2 separate regions of the Homo sapiens genome follow, and region 2 is linked to region 1. The links are contacts of gene promoters, found by promoter capture Hi-C in blood cells and fetal thymus (Javierre and others, 2016). All regions are on one chromosome and are shown on one strand. The core of a region is centred on a gene start or on the middle of the fragment in contact, and the rest is flanking DNA. Distances in the headings are between cores, read along the strand shown.

Region 1 (4,776 bases), core at 1,293-3,792:
TGAGGGACATGGGTTGGGGAGCTGAGAAAGTTACCACAGACCAGGGACAAGAGTTTTGACGGAGATGCCTACTGCCCCGGGACAAGGGTCAAGTGGGGTAGAGGGAGGAAAGTATTTTTGAGGTTTGTTTTCTTTGATCTAGAGCAGGGGTCAGCACGTTTTTTTCTTAAAGGGCCAGAGAGTTAATATTTTAAGCATGGCAGGCCAAGAAACAAAATTAATGATATTATCAGGTACTTATATAACAGTTTACAATGTAACCATTTAAAAATAAAAAAAACCATTATCAGCTTGTAGGCAGCTGGCCAGATCTGGCTTGAGTACTGAGTTTGCCGATTCCTGACCTAGAGGAACCCCATTCCCTTGCTCCCAAAACACATGGTTGAGCCCTGAGTGCTGGATATTGAAGGGTATAGTCTCGTATTTGCTGGAGGGTAAGCTGATGGGGAAAGTGGGGATACATCCCACTGCCCTGGCACAGATGTAGAAATCCAAGTATAGGTAAGGAGCAGGAGGGAAGGGGATAAAAAAAAATTCAAGTATAAAGTATGTGTTCCAGTATGCAGTGGCTCACACCTATAATCCCAACACTTTGGGAGGCCCAGGCGGAAGCATCGCTTGAGGCCGGGAGTTGGAGACAAGTCTGGTCACCACAGCAAGACCCCATCTGTAAAAAAATACTAGCCAGGCATGCTGGCACGCGCCTGTGGTCTCAGCTACTCAGGAGGCTGAGGCGGATATCGCTTGAGCTGCTTGAGCCTAGGAGTTTGAAGTTCAGTGGGCCGTGACTGCACCACTGCACTCCACCCTGGGTGAGAGCAAGGCCTTGTCTCAAAACTAAAAGTATGTGTCCCATGATGCTGCCTGAAAAATTAAGGCTGAGAGACAGGAGACATTCAGGTTATTTGCTGAGTGATGGTGACAAACGCAGGCTTCCTTAGAAGGTAGACTAAGCTTAGGCGCCTTATACTCCTGCTAAGAACTCAGGCCTTGGGCCGTGTGTGGTGGCTCATGCCTGTAATCCCAGCACTTTGGGAGGCCGGGTCGGGTGGATCACCTGAGGTCAGGAGTTCAAAACCAGCCTGGCCAACATGGTATAACTCCATCTCTACTAAAAATACAAAAAAATTAGCTGGGAGTGGTGGCACGTGCCTGTAAGCCCAGCTAATCGGGAGGCTGAGGCAGGAGAATCACATGAACCTGAGAGGCAGGGGTTGCAGTGAGCTGAGATCTCGCCATTGCACTCCAGCCTAGGCAACAAGAGCAAAACGCTTAAAAAAAAAAAAACAAAAAAAAACTCAGGCCCTACTCCCGTTGTCCTCATCATGTCTCCTTTGTGCTCCCACGGAACTTTGAACCTTATTGTTTAAAGACGAGAGGCAAGGCCGGGCGTGGTGGCTCACACCTGTAATCCCAGCACTTTGGGAGGCTGAGGTGGGCGGATCACGAGGTCAGGAGTTTGAGACCAACCTGGCCAACATAGTGAAACCCTGTCTCTACTAAAAATACAAAAATAAGCCAGGCATGGTGGCGCATGCCTGTAGTCCCAGCTACTCGGGAGGCTGAGGCAGGAGAATCGCTTGAACCCCGGGGGTGGAAATTGTGGTGAGCCAAGATCGCGCCACTGCACTCCAGCCTGGCGACAGAGCAAGACTCCATCTCAAAAAACAAAAAACAAACACGTTAAAAATGGGTAAAGAGAAGTAATCTACTTATGGTCACAAAGCTTACATAAGGGTAGACTTCATTGAACCCATGAAGTCTAGCCCTAAACTGTCTCTTCTTAACTATTCCAATGTGCTGTATCTTAACCACCTCTGCTGGCCCACGTTTGTTGAGTGGGCTGCTGTTAGTCCTGGAACCCAGAGCCCTGTACCCCTCACCTCAGGCTGTCAGAGAAGGCCTCCAGGCCAAATTTGGAGACACAGTAGCCCCCACCATTGGCTGCCAGGCGACCCAGGACGCTGGTGATGTTGATCACCCGGCCCCGGGCTTGCTGCAGCAGAGGCAGCAGGGCAAGGGTGACCCCGATGGGACCCATTGTGTTCACATTCAGCACCCGCTGGAAATCGTCCCGGGTCAGCCATGGTGTGGGTCCGATGATACCAGCCACACCAGCATTATTCACCAGACCAAAAAGCCCTGTGGGGAGATGAAAAGGATGCTGGGGGTAGGTGAGGCACTCCCACAGCTCCCTCTTCTTCCTGGGAGCATCTGAAAACTGCTTCTCCTCAAATTGTCCCTTTAGCTTACCACAGCCCTTGCAGGTGACTCCTGGGGTGACTGTGGGGATCAGGACACCCCACACCATATTCCTGGTGGTCTACCATACTTACCTGCTTCCTTAACGTGCATCTCCACCCACTTGGCTGCCTGCTGGACGCTCTGGGGATCAGTGATATCCAACAGGGTGGTGTGGAGGCGGGAGGAGGCCACCCGCTGCAGGTCCTCGGCCCCGGAGGGGGTCAGGCAGCTGGCCAGGACTCGGAAGCCTCTCTGGTCCAGCTGCAGTGCCAGAAGGCGCCCAAAGCCTGAGTCACAGCCGGTGATGAAGACAAAGGCATTGCTGGCGGGCAGGCTCTGCCGGTCCCTGAGCAACCACAGCACTGCCCAGAGTAAGGCACCCAGCAGAAGAGGCAGCCACATAGCTGGAGCCCAAGTGACCTACAGGTGGCAGCCTAGGCTGGGCAGAAAAACTTGTCCAGTTTACTGTGGCCCTCAAGCCCTTTCCCCTAATACCCTCCCTAGCTGGAAGCATCTGGTGTGAGCATATTGAGAAATTATCTGGTTGGCAGATAATTGGCCAACCATGGCTCATCTGTTCAAAGCAAAGATGTGGGCAGACCCTGTATTTGTGGCTAACTTAACTAAAACCACATGAGCCAGATCCTGTGTACAGACCTGCTGTATGGAGCAGAGGCATCTTTTTTTTTTTTTTTTTTTTTTTGAGATGGAGTCTCACTCTGTCGCCCAGGCTGGAGTGCAGCAGAGGCATCTTCTTGCTTGCCTCACACCACCTCTCCTTCTAAACCAGGGACACTGAACCTTCTATATGCAACCTGGGTCTTGTGTTTGGAATGATGTATAGGGCCAAGAGGTTTGCTGTGTGATACTGAGCATCTCACTGTCTCTCTCAACCTATTTTCTCATCTACCAAGTGGGGCTAAGACCCACCAGGTCCACCTCAGAGTTGTGGAGGATCAAAGGGGATAATGTGTGAGGAAGCATGTTAAAAGCTGAAAGTTTTGAGTTGGCAATACATGTAATATCTGGCTAGTCTTCTCAGTTCCCCCAGCTCCCAGTATCCACTTACCTCCTGTGGCGAAAGCTGGCAGGTACTACAGCGCCCGAAGCTTATTCTTTTGCTTTTGTTTAAGAGACTGCTCCCAGTCTTCCCAGCCTCCCACACTAACTACTGCTAAGGCCAAAGTCCGGAGTGGGTGGACTTGGATGCCAGGCGTATTAAGTGTATGTGTGACAGGGTGGGGATAGGACTGAGGAGGAGGAGGAGCCAGGGAGGCTGGAGCTTGCCTGGCTGAAGCCAGGACTTGGCAGAGGCCAGATTTGCCTAGGCTCCCCCCACCCCTTGGCTGTCTTTCTCAGCCTGGGTTCCTGACCATCTATGTCATGGTCTCCAAGGAGGAGGGAGCTGTCAAGGATGGCAGCTGCACTGCTCTGTTGGTAACGGTTACTGGACCTGTCATTCCTCCCCCTTCTCAGCCCTGAAGTGCCCCCAGGAATTAATCTCCCACCTGGCTCAGACTCATGACACTGCTTAGAGTTAGCCTGGGAGAGGCCATGAGCACGTGGAGAGGCAGAAAGCCAGAGCTGGGGACCAGGCCTGTACCTTGCCTTGTTTCTCTTCTGTAGGAAACAAGTCCTGAATTAGGAAGCTTGGGGCAGGGCTACTAGGACCTTCTCTCAGGAGGGATGGGAACTCCCACCCTCTGCTTGCCTAACAGACACCTGCACAAGGGCCATGGAGGAGAAGAGAGTTGGGATAGTAAGAGGAAGCTAGTTCCACCCTCTCCCCAAAAGGTACCTGTCCCTCAGGGAAACCACCTTTGAACCTTCCACTCCCACCCCCGACACTGGAGCTAGTAGCTCTCTGAAACACACCACAGAGAAACGGAGGCTTGTGTTTTATTCAAGGCTTGTCAGCCTCCCTCCTTCCCCCTGCGGGTGAGGTAGGAGGGATAGGGTTGGGGGAGGGAACAGGGGCTAGGAAGGGGCAGACTGCAGCTGCCCTTTGTAGACATATTCCAGTGCAGTGGCAATGGTGCGCATGTCCAGCTCGATGCTCCGAGCCCAGTTCTCCACATCCCCAATTTCCTGGGAAGGGGGAGAGGAGGTGGGAGCCCAGGAATCAGAATGGGTAGAGTATGGCTTCCAGTCTGGGGAATACGTTTTATTCATCTCCTGGAAAAGGCTTTACTTGGACCCACCAACTGCTTTTCTTTCTTTCTCTACCTTTTCTGACACTGGGGCTATAGATGGGGTTTCTGGGACCACCCTACTTCCTCCTTAACCTAAACCTGAGGTAACCTGACTGGAGGCAGCCAATGGGGGCCCAGGATTGGGGTGGTGAGGTAGGGAGTATGGCCCACCTTGAGTGCCTGGTTGAAGTTCTCCACCATTCCGATCCACTGGCCTGTCTGCTTGGCAAATTGGGCAGCCTGGACCTGTAGGGTCTTCACCTCATGGTCCAGCTTTCTCTGGTTCATGTAGGCCTGGGCCACACTGGGGGGTTGGAGGAGGGAGGAGATCAGCTCCAGC
Region 2 (4,776 bases), core at 2,277-4,776, 2.0 Mb before region 1:
TGTCCAGGCTACTGCTGAGCGACAGGGCGTCCAGCGCGCCCGGGGGCGGCAGCGGCGGCGCGGGCGGCGGCAGGGGTCCGGCCCGCGGCTCCTTGTCGCCGGCCAGGCCCCGGGCCCGCGGCTCCGACCCGTAGTACTCCTCCTCGTCGCCGTCGCCGTCCCGGGTGGAGCAGCCAGCGAAGGGCGCCCAGCCGCAGCCGCCTCCCCGGCCCCCCCGGGGTTGCGGCTCGGCCCGGGGCCGCCCCCCGCCTGTCAGCACCAGCAGCTTCAGCTCGTTCAGAAACATGCGGAGCCGAGACTTGAGCATCGTCCGGACACCGGGGGCGGGGGGCAGCGTGCAAGGGGGGCTCGCTAGCGGCGGGGGGAGGGGAGAGGACAAGGCCGGGAAGGGGGCGCGCGCTAGAGAGCCGAGCCGGGCCGGGGTCTTCGGGGCCTGCGACAGCCGTTCACTGCTGCCACCGCCGGGGCTCCGGTGCTTGCGGGGCCGAGCGGGCTGGCGGCCCGGGGGCGGCGGGGTGGGCGGCCATGGCCAGGGCAGGGGGCGGGGAGGGGGGCTCAGGGTGCCGCACCCCGCGGGTCTGGGTCTGGAGCGGGCCGGGCCCCCGGGGTTACGCGCCCGGGTCCTCCTGCGGCGGGGCCGCCCCCCATCGCCGTTCTCTCGGTCCCAGTCCCCCTCCGGCTCCGGGATCAGGCTTGGCTCGGCCCGTGCGCTCGGCGGTGGCAAATGGCGGCTCCTTCCGGCGGCGGCGGCGGCGGAGACCCCCCCGGAGTGGCGGGCGGGCGGGGCGGGCGCCGGGGAGCGGGTGAAGGATGGAGGGAGGGGCGGGGCGGGGAGGGGGAGAGGAGAAGGGGCCGCGGCTGCGCATCCCCGCCCTGCCCCGCACGAGCAGGTGTCCCAGGGGCGGGGGCAAGTGTGGGATCCCGAGGAGGGTGGAGGAAGGGGAGTGGCCAAGGAAGGGGAGTGTGCACACAAGTTGACTAGGTGTGTGTCTGGGAGTGGGGGATGAGCGGGTGAGCATGGAAGGTGAGTGGTTAAATGACGCAGGTGTACCAGGGAGGGTGAGGCTTGTGCAAAATGGGAATGTGCAAAGAAAGAGCTGTGCAAGTGTCGGAGGTGTGAGGGAGGTACATGGGCAGGGGTGGGACTCAAGCAATATACACTTTACCCAAAGGGCTGAAAAGTGTGATCGATGGGGACTGGGAAAGAGAGGTGTGTAAGGAATGGAATCGGATTGTCTGAGAAACAGAAGCCTGTGATTGTAATGTGTGAAGGAGGTGAGGGAGGGAGCAGGGGAGGTAGGCGTGCTAAAGGGATGGGAGTGTCTTTCCTGGTACTCTCCTGCCCTCACCTCCACTACACTGAAGTGAACAATACACACACTTACCCCTTTCCTTTTATGGAGACTTCCCTCTGAGGCCAAGTTCTACCCCCATCACATTTTTTTCTTTCTTACACTTACATTCTCCCTCTCCTCCCCTTTGCAAAGCTGAGGGAAAAGGGATTCCAGGGGAGCTCATTGGGTCAAACATACTGGGAAAAAATTTAATTAGTGAAAGAGTAATTAACAGAAGAAGGGAGGGGACAGAGCCTGGGACAGACTGCCAAATTAAGGTTCCTCAATAGAAAGTGATGGAGAGACAGTAATGTTCCCATGAAGTATTCAAATGTTTTGGATGGACTAATGAATGAATCAGAAAAAGGGGCTGGGACCCAAGCAGACAGAGAGGACGTCTTCTGTTGCAAAGACAGTAAGCTGTGAAGGTCTTATGTGGAAGGTGAGGCTGAAGTGGGGAATGCTGGTGTGGGAAGGGAGTTTGAAAAACTCACAGACAATTATCTTAGCCTTCCAGAAGGCTTACAAAGCACCCACCCCTAGCAAGGTAGCCAATAAAACATTCACCTCTTGAGCCCCTTAGTCAGTTCAGTCCTTGAGGTTTTTCTTACTAGTGTTCCAGCTGCCCTTGCCAGGAGGGGCCCAGGGCTACAAGTATCAGGATGGAAAGAGGAGGCATCTGTATTAATATGTATTCTATTTTGCTCTAAGTCATGGTTTATATTCATCTTCTAGTTTGAACTCTTATATTCTCAGCCAGATGGTTAAGGAAAACAGAAGTTAGAGTGGAAGGAGTGGCAAATAGGGTAATAAAATGGCTTTAGATTTTAGACAAATTCTCACAAATGAGACACTAACCGCTTTCCTCCTTTACTCCCATACCCCCAAAGGGCTGGGAGATAAAGACCTTGGAGCCAATAAAACAAAGTAGGAGAAATCTACTTGTGTCTACCTAGGTGTCTGGGCAGAGGCCATTTGGGAACAAGTGTGTTCTGGACAGTGCTAAGTGCTAAGAAAGCGGCACTAGGGAAAAAGAGGGAAGCACAATAACTCCAAATGAGTAGTCACAAGGTTTGCAGAAGGGGGCATGTCATTTTCATTCATTGTGGTGGTCTGGAGGGTGCAGGGGGTGTGGTGGTAACTTTCTTGCACATGTGCAATCCTGTATCCGTCTTATATATGATGTGATAAATAATATCATATACATACATATATACATAGAAGCATATATGCACACATACAAATATCACATAATCATAGAACCTTCCTACTGGAAAAAAAAAAAAAACTTAAAAGGTCAAGTATTCCTGTCTCCTGCTCATCAATAACTTCTCTGCCAGATGGCCTCAGGTCTTTGCATTAACACTCCCAGGGAGGTTTGGAAGTTGGAAAAGTGAGAGGATTACCTTGTCACTGAGCCTGTTGGATTACTGTATTAATCTGCCTTCCGTCATCCTTTAATCGTAGTTTTGCCCTCAAATGGGCATTGTTTACTCCCTATTGTAGAAGACCCCATTGTTGGCTACATCTTTATAGATAGTCGTACCACTACTTTAAAGGGCCAGTGACAGACACCAAAAACAAAATAAAAACCCACATACACACTGGAAGCAAGCACTCAGTAAAATGTTGTAGAATTAATGAATGAAACAATGACACAAATGAGAGTATGTTTTCTCATGGTGGAGCGAAAAGGTGACAGCATCACCTCTGGTACCCCAACTCCCACCCCCTCCCCAATGCAGACAGGCTGAAAGACCGGTAGTGAGACTGGAGTTCAGCCTTCAGACCGGTAGTGAGACAATCCTTCAGCCGGGAGTTGGGCTCTGGGTGGCCTAGGTTGCCATGGCACCGCCTCGGGCTCCACCCTCTCTTGTCCCCCTCACCGCTCCCCCCCTGCAGCGGGGGTTGTGGCAGCCAGTCACGTGCCCGCCGCGTAGCCACACCTCTGCTCCTCAGAGCAATGTCAAGCGGTCACGTGTGATAGCAACAGATCACGTGGCTGCCATCGCCCCTCCGCCCCCTTACACTCTTCGCCCTCCTCCCAGTCGAAGCACCTCCTGTCCGCCCCTCAGCGCATGGGTGGCGGTCACGTGCCCAGAACGTCCGGCGTTCGCCCCGCCCTCCCAGTTTCCGCGCGCCTCTTTGGCAGCTGGTCACATGGTGAGGGTGGGGGTGAGGGGGCCTCTCTAGCTTGCGGCCTGTGTCTATGGTCGGGCCCTCTGCGTCCAGCTGCTCCGGACCGAGCTCGGGTGTATGGGGCCGTAGGAACCGGCTCCGGGGCCCCGATAACGGGCCGCCCCCACAGCACCCCGGGCTGGCGTGAGGTAAGTGCAGTCCCTTCCCAGGAATGAGAACCAGTGCCCGCCCCCCTCACAGCTTTCCACGCGTTCGTTTCGCGAGCTGGTTATGGAAGGGTCGCTCAAGGGCGGGAAGTGGGGCCTTTGTGGTCATGGGAAAGTATAATTTTAGGGACTGAGGTGTAGGATCTTCGATGCAAGGCATGTGTCATGTGTGATCTTTGTGCGGGGCGCGATTGTCCCAAAGGAAAAAGCGTTTTCTATTGCAGGGCCTCACGTGGCTGGAGGGGTTGGTATTGAGTCATTGTGTTATCTCTGGGGCCGGCCCCAAGGAAGACTGGGAGCGGGGGATGGGATGCTGGTGGTGTTCTTTGCGCTTTTTTTTTGGGAGTCCCTTTGTTGCTGCAGGCTCATACCATCCTAACTCTGTAAGCGACTTTTGGTGATAGGAGTCTGTGATTGTAGGGTCTCCCTTGATCTGAGAATGGCTACCTCTCGATATGAGCCAGTGGCTGAAATTGGTGTCGGTGCCTATGGGACAGTGTACAAGGCCCGTGATCCCCACAGTGGCCACTTTGTGGCCCTCAAGAGTGTGAGAGTCCCCAATGGAGGAGGAGGTGGAGGAGGCCTTCCCATCAGCACAGTTCGTGAGGTGGCTTTACTGAGGCGACTGGAGGCTTTTGAGCATCCCAATGTTGTCCGGTGAGAAGGTGGTGGAGGGTTGGGCGTGGGGAGTAAAGGGAAAAGACAGCCTATAGGTGGGGTGTGATGATCTGTAGAGAAGTGGGGACCCTGAGGAAATAATGAGAGGCCATGTTGGGTTAAAGGGGATTGAAAAGTGAGCATTTACTCTGGTCAGGCTGATGGACGTCTGTGCCACATCCCGAACTGACCGGGAGATCAAGGTAACCCTGGTGTTTGAGCATGTAGACCAGGACCTAAGGACATATCTGGACAAGGCACCCCCACCAGGCTTGCCAGCCGAAACGATCAAGGTGAGTGGGGTTGGTAGGCATTGAGAGGTGGATTGGGACCTTTGTAGTAGAACCTTCTGGGATTTCAGGTATGGTGCCTAGTTTCCAGTGCATCTGTACCTCCCCTTTGAAACTAGGATCTGATGCGCCAGTTTCTAAGAGGCCTAG

Evidence for each region. The method cuts DNA at HindIII sites, captures the fragments that hold promoters and counts their contacts. A CHiCAGO score of 5 or more calls a contact.
Region 2: a contact is called between the fragment with the promoter of CDK4 here and a fragment that was not itself captured in region 1, in 1 of 17 cell types (total CD4 T cells). The highest score is 6.6, in total CD4 T cells.

The regions. Positions count from the first base shown.
Region 1 is chr12:55,719,055-55,723,830 of GRCh38, reverse strand. It overlaps RDH5 (retinol dehydrogenase 5), which reads right to left and starts at 3,438. Exons shown (of 5, transcript NM_002905.5): 1 at 3,314-3,438; 2 at 2,337-2,678; 3 at 1,884-2,142. The coding sequence starts at 2,646. BLOC1S1-RDH5 (BLOC1S1-RDH5 readthrough) reads right to left here. Exons shown (of 6, transcript NR_037658.1): 3 at 4,608-4,740; 4 at 1,884-2,142. It overlaps BLOC1S1 (biogenesis of lysosomal organelles complex 1 subunit 1), which reads right to left. Exons shown (of 4, transcript NM_001487.4): 3 at 4,608-4,740; 4 at 4,128-4,332. The coding sequence ends at 4,222. It also overlaps a transcript of CD63 not described here. RefSeq lists an enhancer at 2,375-3,003. The HindIII fragment of the contact is 1,627 bases long and covers 1,729-3,355 here.
Region 2 is chr12:57,751,060-57,755,835 of GRCh38, reverse strand. CDK4 (cyclin dependent kinase 4) reads left to right here and starts at 3,526. Exons shown (of 8, transcript NM_000075.4): 1 at 3,526-3,661; 2 at 4,100-4,336; 3 at 4,494-4,629; 4 at 4,746-4,776. The coding sequence starts at 4,119. It overlaps MARCHF9 (membrane associated ring-CH-type finger 9), which reads right to left and starts at 733. Exons shown (of 4, transcript NM_138396.6): 1 at 1-733. The coding sequence starts at 307. RefSeq lists silencers at 81-130, 191-290, 3,077-3,196, 3,427-3,506, 4,237-4,376 and 1 more and an enhancer at 3,167-3,900. The HindIII fragment of the contact is 8,675 bases long and covers 1-4,776 here.